Regions from separate parts of the Homo sapiens genome. Here region 1 is linked to region 2. The links are contacts of gene promoters, found by promoter capture Hi-C in human tissues and cell types (Jung and others, 2019). All regions are on one chromosome and are shown on one strand. Each heading gives the region's core, a stretch centred on a gene start or on the middle of the fragment in contact. The rest is flanking DNA. Distances are from core to core; before and after follow the strand shown. Region 1 has its middle 6.1 kb from the start of TEX44. Region 2 holds the start of PDE6D (phosphodiesterase 6D).

Evidence for each region. Contacts are between HindIII fragments. The study calls those that stand out against the background at their distance.
Region 1: a fragment that was not itself captured here is called in contact with the fragment with the promoter of PDE6D in region 2 in 2 of the 25 tissues and cell types used here (H1 embryonic stem cells and IMR-90 fibroblasts).

The regions. Positions count from the first base shown.
Region 1 is chr2:231,584,729-231,588,869 of GRCh38, reverse strand. It overlaps the pseudogene RPL23AP26. Among named protein-coding and RNA genes, the nearest start is that of TEX44, 6.1 kb to the left of the region's middle. The HindIII fragment of the contact is 4,173 bases long and covers 164-4,141 here.
Region 2 is chr2:231,779,589-231,783,434 of GRCh38, reverse strand. It overlaps PDE6D (phosphodiesterase 6D), which reads left to right and starts at 2,153. Exons shown (of 5, transcript NM_002601.4): 1 at 2,153-2,370. The coding sequence starts at 2,321. It also overlaps a transcript of COPS7B not described here. RefSeq lists enhancers at 2,127-2,356, 2,907-2,986 and silencers at 2,567-2,616, 2,740-2,963. The HindIII fragment of the contact is 5,328 bases long and covers 1-3,759 here.

The DNA of each region.
Region 1 (4,141 bases), core at 1,001-3,500, 190 kb after region 2:
GTGTTTGCTTGAATATCTTCCAGTCCTAAACAATCAAGAGTAGCATATGGCACTGAGTGTCAGTAGGCCTGACGCTGGGCAGGGGTTATTTCCCCATTTTTCAGATGAGGAAACTGAGGCTTAGAGAAGCCAAGCACATAGCAAGGTCAGTGGCATCTGCCTGACTCCAAAGCCCCACACCCCACACAGCTCCCTGCTTTTAGTTAGAAAGTTCTCCCCGCTCCCTATCTTTACCCAGGAAATAAAAACCTATATATGACTTAATTTTTTTTTTTTTTTGAGATGGAATCTCACTCTGTCACCCAGGCTGGAGTGCAGTGGCACGATCTCAGTTCACTGCAACCTCCGGCCCCCGGGTTCAAGCGATTCTCCTGCCTCAGCCTTCCAAGTAGCCGGGATTACAGGCGCCTGTCACCGAGCCTGGCTAATTTTTGTATTTTTAGTAGAGACGGGGTTTCACCATCTTGGCCAGGCTGGTCTTGAACTCCTGACCCGTGATCCACCTGCCTCTGCCTCCCAAAGTGCTAGGATTACAGACGTGAGCCACTGTGCCTGGCTGACTTAATGTTTTGTTGTACATTAGACTGTGAAATAATCACTACAATCAAGCTAATTAACATATCCCTCACCTCGTATAGTTTCCATCTCCCTCCCTCCCTCCCTCCTTCCCCCACCCTCCTTCCTTCCTCCCTCCCTCTTTCTTTTCTTTTTTCTTTCCCTTCCCTTCCCTTCCCTTCCTTTCCCTTCCCTTCCTTTCCCTTCCCTCCTTTTCCCTCCTCTTCTCTTCTCTTTTCTTTCTCTTTCTTTCCTCTTCCCCCTTCTCTCTTTTTTCTTGTTTTCTTTCAACAGGGTCTCACTATGTTGCCCAGGCTGGAGTACAGTGGTACAATCATAGCTCACTGCAGCCTTGACCTCCTGGGCTCAAGGGATCCTCCCACCTCAGCCTCTGAGTAGTTGGGACTACAGGTGTGTGCACCATGGCTGGCTGATTTTTAAATATTTTGTAGAGATGGAGTCTCACTATGTTGCCCAGGATGGTCTTGAACTTCTGGGCTCAAGCAATCTGCCTGCCTTGGCCTCCCAAAATGCTGGGATTACAAGCATGAGCCACCGCACCTGGCCATTTTCTTTCTTTCTTACTTTGTGTGTGTGTGTTGAGAATAGAAAGTTTCTGATGTCCCCTCATGTGGCCCACTAAAACCATCATGCACCTTATAGGCACCAAGGACAAACTCTGTATTTGGAATTCAGCTTTTGATTCTACATGTTGCACTTTATGTTGACCCTTGTTACATTTCATATGCTTGGGCCAGGCATGGTGGCTCACGCCTGTAATCCTAGCACTTTGGGAGGCCGAGGCGGGTGGATCACCTGAGATCAGGAGTTTGAGACCAGCCTGACCAACGTGGATAAACCCCATTTTACTAAAAATACAAAATTAGCTGGGCTTGGTGGTGCACCTGTCATTCCAGCTACTCAGGAGACTGAGGCAGGAGAATTGCTTGAACCTGGAAGGCGGAGGTTGTGGTGAGCCGAGGTTGCACCATTGCACTCCAGCCTGGGCAACAAGAGTGAAACTTCATCTCAAAAAAAAAAAAAGTTTCATATGCTTGAAAATCGTGCCCAAGGAAGGCTACAGTGGAATGAATAGGCACTGATGTCAAAGGCAGAGAGATTTATTAAAATTGGGGAACAAAAAATAAAGGATTATTTATTTGTAAATAAATATTAAATGAGATCAGTATAGAACAAAATATATTTATTCTGTTATGTGGACAATATATATTTTAGATATATTCTGTACATAAATAAAATACAAAATAAAATATATATGAAAGTTTTCTCCATCTTAGTTAAAAACTTTCCTACTTTTATTTTTTTTTTTCTGGTGAAAAGATATATATATATTTAGAATTAGCCAGCTGGACTCAGTTTAGATGATCCCTTTTTTTTTTTTTGAGATAGAGTTTCACTCTTGTTGCTCAGACTGGAGTGCAATGGCGCGATCTTGGCTCACCGTAACCTCCTCCTCCCGAGTTCAAGTGATTCTTCTGCCTCAGCCTCCCGAGTAGCTGGGATTACAGGCATGCGCCACCACGTCCAGCTAATTTTGTATTTTTAGTGGAGATGGGGTTTCTCCATGTTGGTCAGGCTGTTCTCAAACTTTTGACCTCAGGTGATCCGCCCGCCTCAGCCTCCCAAAGTGCTGGGATTACAGGCGTGAGCCACCGCGCCTGGCTTTTTTTTTGTTTTTTTTGAGACAGAGTCTTGCTCTATGGCCCAGGCTGGAGTGCAGTGATGTGATCTCAGCTCACTGAAACCTCTGCCTCCTGGGTTCAAGTGATTCTTCTGTTTTAGCCTCCTGAGTAGCTGGGACTACAGGAGCGCACCACCACACCTGGCTTATTTTCTTGTATTTTTAATAGAGACAGGGTTTTGCCATGTCGGCCAGGCTGGTCTCAAACTCCTGACCTCAGGTGATCCACTCTCCTCGGCCTCCCGAAGTGCTGGGATTATAGGTGTGAGCCACCGTGCCCAACCACATGATCTCATTTTTGTTGGCAACATCCAAAGCATCATAATCAGCAGCCAGTTGAACATATGCCTTCTTCTCTCCATCAGGCCTATTCAGGGTGTTGACCACTGCCACGTCGATGTCATAGAGCTTCTTCACAGCCTGTTTGATCTGGTGCTTGTTGGCTTTAACATCCACAATGAACACAGTGTGTTGTTGTCGTCTGTCTTCTTCGTGGCCAACTCAGTGGTCAGCGGAAACTTGATGATAACACAGTGGCCAAGCTTATTTCTCCCAGGGATGCTCTTCTGGGAATATCTGGGCCGCCTCCAGAGTCGCAGTGTCTTGGGCCGCTGGAAGGTGGGTGACGTGCAGATCTTTTTTTTGTGGCTGTGGATACCTTTCAGCTCTGCCTTCTTGGCCTTCAAAGCCTTTGCTTTGGCTTCAGCTTTAGGAGGGGCAAGAGCTTCCTTCTTTGCCTTTGGCATCATCTTGTAAAAAGAGTTCTCTACCTTTATTAAGTAGTTCTCATAAGAGGAAATTCGTCTCAAATAATTTGCCTTTGCTTTCTTTTCAATTCCTTTCTCTCTCTCTCTCTTTTTTTTTTTTTTTTTTTTTTTTTTTTTGAGATGGAGTCTCACTCTGTCACCCAGGCTGGAGTGCAGTGGCATGATCTCGGCTCACTGCAACCTCTGCCTCCCAGGTTCAAGCGATTCTCATGCCTCAGCCTCCCAAGTAGCTGGGACTACAGGCATTTGCCACCACACCTGGCTAATTTTTTTTTTTTTTGAGATGAAGTCTTACTCTTGTCCCCCAGGTTGCGGGCTGGAGTGCGGTGGCGTGAGTGATCTTGGCTCACTGCAACCTCTGCCTCCTGGGTTCAGGCAACTCTCCTGCCTCAGCCTCCCAAGTAGCTGGGATTACGGGTACCTGCCACCATGCCCGGCTAATTTTTGTATTTTTAGTTGACATGGGGTTTTGCCATGTTGGCCAGGCTGGTCTCGAACTCTTGACCTCAAGTGATCCGCCTGCCTCAGCCTCCCAAAGTGCTGGGATTTACAAGCATGAGCCACCGTGCCTGGCCCTCAACTCCTTTCTCTTGGGGAGAATGACTCTCGAATTAAATAATTAAATACTCTTATTTTAGGGTAAACTCAGTTTATGGAATATTATGAAGCTGTATAAAGCCTGTACAGAAACATGGAAAAAGATTGTTATATAATGTTACTTTAAAAAGCAGGAGGTTGGGCGTGGTGGCTCACACTTGTAGTCCCAGCACTTTGGGAGGCCAAGGCGGGAGGATTATTTGAGTCCGGGTGTTCGAGGCTACAGTGAGCTGTAATTGCACCACTGCACTCCAGCCTAGGCAACAGAGTGTGACCCCATCTCAAAAAATAAGGCTAGATATGGTGGTTCATGCCTGCAATCCCAGCATGTGGGAGGCCAAGGTGGGTGGAAGGAGACCAGCCTGGGTAACATGAAGAAACCCCATCTCTCCAACAACAACAAAATTAGCCGGACGTGGTGGTGTGCACCTGCGGTCCCAGCTCCTCTGGAGGCTGAGGTGGGAGGGAGGATCACTTCAGCCTGGGAGGTAGAGGTTGCAGTGAACTGAGATCATGCTAC
Region 2 (3,846 bases), core at 904-3,403:
CTCTTGTGTTGACAAGGATAAGAGGCACCTAGAACTCTCTCATATTGCTGGCAAAGGCGTAAATTGGTACAATCATTTTGAAAAACTGGCAATGTCTACTATCACTGATCATGTGCATACCCTCCCTACACACTAGCAATTCCTCTCCTAGAAATGTGTGCAAGTGTCTACAAAAAGAAACATGTAAGAATGCTCACTACGGCTTTGCTAATAATAGTCCAAAAAATAACAACCCAAATGCCCGCCAACAGTGGAAAAGATAAATTGTGGTATAAACATACAACAGAATACTATTCAGCAATTAAAAGGCTACACACAACATGGATGAATTTCACAAAAATACTGATAAAGTAAAAAAGCCAGACACATACTGTACATACTGTATTATTATATTTAACTGGAATTCAAGAACAGAGAAAACTGATCTATGGTGATACAGTCAGAAGAGTGATTATCTCAATATGTAAGGATGTAATACTGATTGGGAGGGAGCACTAAGTGTGCTAGAAATGTTCTATATCTTGATTTGGGTAGTGGCGACAGGGGTGTATACCTATGTGAAAATTGTTCCCATACTGTATGTTACACCTCATTAACAAAAAAAAAACTTTTTTAACATGGAAAAAAAATTCAAGTTCAAATGCCACCTTGTCCATTAAAGTTTTGCCAGCTGCAATGAACCTTTTCATCAGGGCCTCCTTAGCATTCTGATGTCATTTCTTTATGCCATTTTATCACACTCCATCTTGAATCTCAGTGGAGTCTCCTTATTTCCCTAAATATATGTTCATCTTCCTGGTGGCAGTGACCATGTCCTTCACCTTTTACCCACTCAGTGCCTGACAAATAACAGGCTGAAAAGATATTTGTTGAATTACATGGAAGAAAAAATTGGGTGAGTTCCCAGATGGGTGAAAGTGGGGACAGGCAGAGGAAGGAAGGCCAAGAGAAGGACAGAGGAGGTTTCCAAGGAAACCGTGGCTCACACTGTAATTTTACCTACTTCCTGAAATCACATTAAATGTCACCTTGAGTGGCAAAAAACAAAACACCAAATCCTACCTAGGCTGAAAATAAATAAATATCACACTCCCTCACTCGCAAGAAATCCACCAAATAAATGCTACCTAATTCTGGGTGTTTCAACAGTGGATAGGAAAACCGTTCAAGGAGAATAATTCACATTGCCATGCTGCTAAAAATATCACCTCCTTAGTGTGGTGCAAAGAGTCCAGACTGCAAGTCAGCCGACTTAGGGCTGAATTCTAACTCTGCCCGAACTTGCTGTGATCTGTGGCCAATCCCTTCGCCTCTCTGGGCCTCAATTTCCTCATACGTAACAACAGGGGATAGATTAGCAAAGTCCCTTTATGTTTTGATATTCTGAGTATACAATCCATAGCTCTCCCGGTGCAAACCAGGAATACAGCAAAAAACCCTGAAATACATGTAAAAGGCGCCTCAGACCAACAAACAAGCACGATTTGAAGAAGTCATTTTGTTCTCTTTCACGGTTTAATCAGTGTTTTTGTTTGTTGTTTGCAGCCTTACCATGATTTGCAGATGTCTGAGTTCCATGTAAACAGAAGTTAACTCTCTGCGGGCTGTCATCTTCTTTTGAGGGTGAGAAGGGTCTTCCCGTTGGGTTTCAAGTCTCGGGATTCCGAAACGACCAACTCAGCGGGCGGGTTTGTGAATTTGCGCACACTGCGCGGCACACTGGAGTCTAAGTTACAGAGGAACCGAGTGCAGGGGATGCTGGGATTTGTAGTCCCCGGGCCTCTTTGTGGTGCGCTGGGATCTGTGGTCCCCCGAGTGCGCCGCTGGAATGCTGGGAAATGTAGTCTCTGTCGCGTCGCACAGTGCAACTCAGCTGCCGTCTCAGACGGCTAGTGTGCTCAGTGGCTGGAGCAGGTCCCTAAAGCCTCTGCAGATCCGAAGCCAACCCTCCGCTGGGACAAACTCTAGGCAACAACACCAGATGAATATTGTGTCCTATGGGACTTCCCGGGGAGGGCCCTTCCCATTGACGTTAACAGTCCCCCTGCGAAGCCGCTGCGCGCTCCTACTGGCTGGTTGAGATGCCAATCGCCAAGGCTGGCTTTCCATTGGTTCCAGGAGGGCACTGCGAGGCTAGGGGGAAGGAGAAGGGATCAGAAGCGGGAGCTGAGGGGAGAGAGAGGCCGGTCCTGGTCTGGCCGCTGCGGCTGCTAGCCCGAGGTCTCCAAGCCGGGCTGCGGCTCCATCCTCGGCTCCTGGGCACCGTCTGCGAGGCTCCGCCGACCAGAGTGAGAAAGCCGCGGGCGGCGACCGCCGCATCATGTCAGCCAAGGACGAGCGGGCCAGGGAGATCCTGAGGGGCTTCAAACTGTATCCGTCCGGGAGCGGGGCGGGGCCGGGAGGACTTGGGAGGCGGCCGCTCACTGAGGAGACTGGCCGGGGGCGGGGGCCGCGCCAGGTGGGCCCCACAGAAGAAGGGCCGCGGGAGGGGAGAGGAAAGGAACAGCGTGCCGAGCACCCGGCGGGACCCGGCGCGAGAGGCGCCCCAAGGGGCGTCCTGAGGGAGGAAGGGGACGTTGACGGGAGCGCCGGGGGGTGGCGGGTGGAGACGGGGGAGCCTGGGGGACGGGGCTGCGAGAGGTGCCGGGCGTCGGAAACGCTGTCGGAGAAGCCGGCTGGGTTCCGATCCCCGGCCGGGACCCAGAGGCCGGGATGGGGCTGCGGCCCGCGGAGAAGGGCTGAGGGGGCGCGGTGGGCTGATCTCGAAGCCTAGAAGCCTCTTTGGCTATAAGCCTACCCGGGGAGCGGGGAACAGTGACTTGGAGCGGGCGACCTTGTGTGGGACAAATACCAGTGCTTTTAAAACTCTCTCAGGTCCCCCACCGCACCGCACCGCACCCCACCCCCGTCTGGTTTCCACAACTTCTCTTCCAAACTTGTGGCTTCTTCCAGGACTGGAGTAGTTGGGGGAGGTGGGGAAAGAGAAGTCCAAGATCGACCTCGTCTTAACACTCTTGGCCTTCTCAGGCATTGGTCACTGCTTCCCCCTCAGCGCCTCAGTTTTCTTTCCAGCAAGATGAGGACCATAGGCTTAGGTGTGGGGTGCCTCGCGCTGGGACTCCTAGCCGAGGTGTCTTTGCTCGCTCCTGTCGGTGCGGTTATGCCTAGCTGTGGTGGAGCTGTCCAGCAATGGTGTGATGTCGCTGGGGCCACGGTAGGATAGAGTGGGGTAGAGAAATCATTGCCTCGGGCCTGTTGTGGTGCCCCTTTTGCATCCTCTCCGTAAGGAAGCTTTGTGTTTTCGTGGAGTGTGTTAGTCTGTCACCATATGATGCAGATGAAAAAATGCAAACTTGGATATTCAAATTTTCCATTCTCCTGCCAACTTTAATCTCTTCATGCATCCTATCTGTAATCTATAGTACGAACGTTCTTAAATTGCTCCCTCAGTGAAAAGGTAGTCACCACTTCAGGGCTCCTCCCTTGGAGGTTTAGTAAAGCACTGTTTTCTTGGTATTCTGTTGCGTTTTCACAATGTCCATGTCACGCTTGCAAATTTAATTGCTTTGCTATAATCAGAAACCAAGTTGGTAATACATTTTAGACCACAGTGCAAAAAGGAAGTTTTGGATGTACAAGTGAGATTTTTCGAATGGAAATTGATCTATGCTTTTTAAAAAAACTAAAGGCTGTATCACCTTTGCATACTACCATCTGTGATAAACTTTCAGTACTTTCATGTTTTGGTTTAGTAGCAGCCTCTTTTATAGCTCCATGTGCCTTTCTGTGTTTCTCTCCATAATGGATCAAATAGGTATATAGGGATGACTGAAGTGCTGGAAAAGC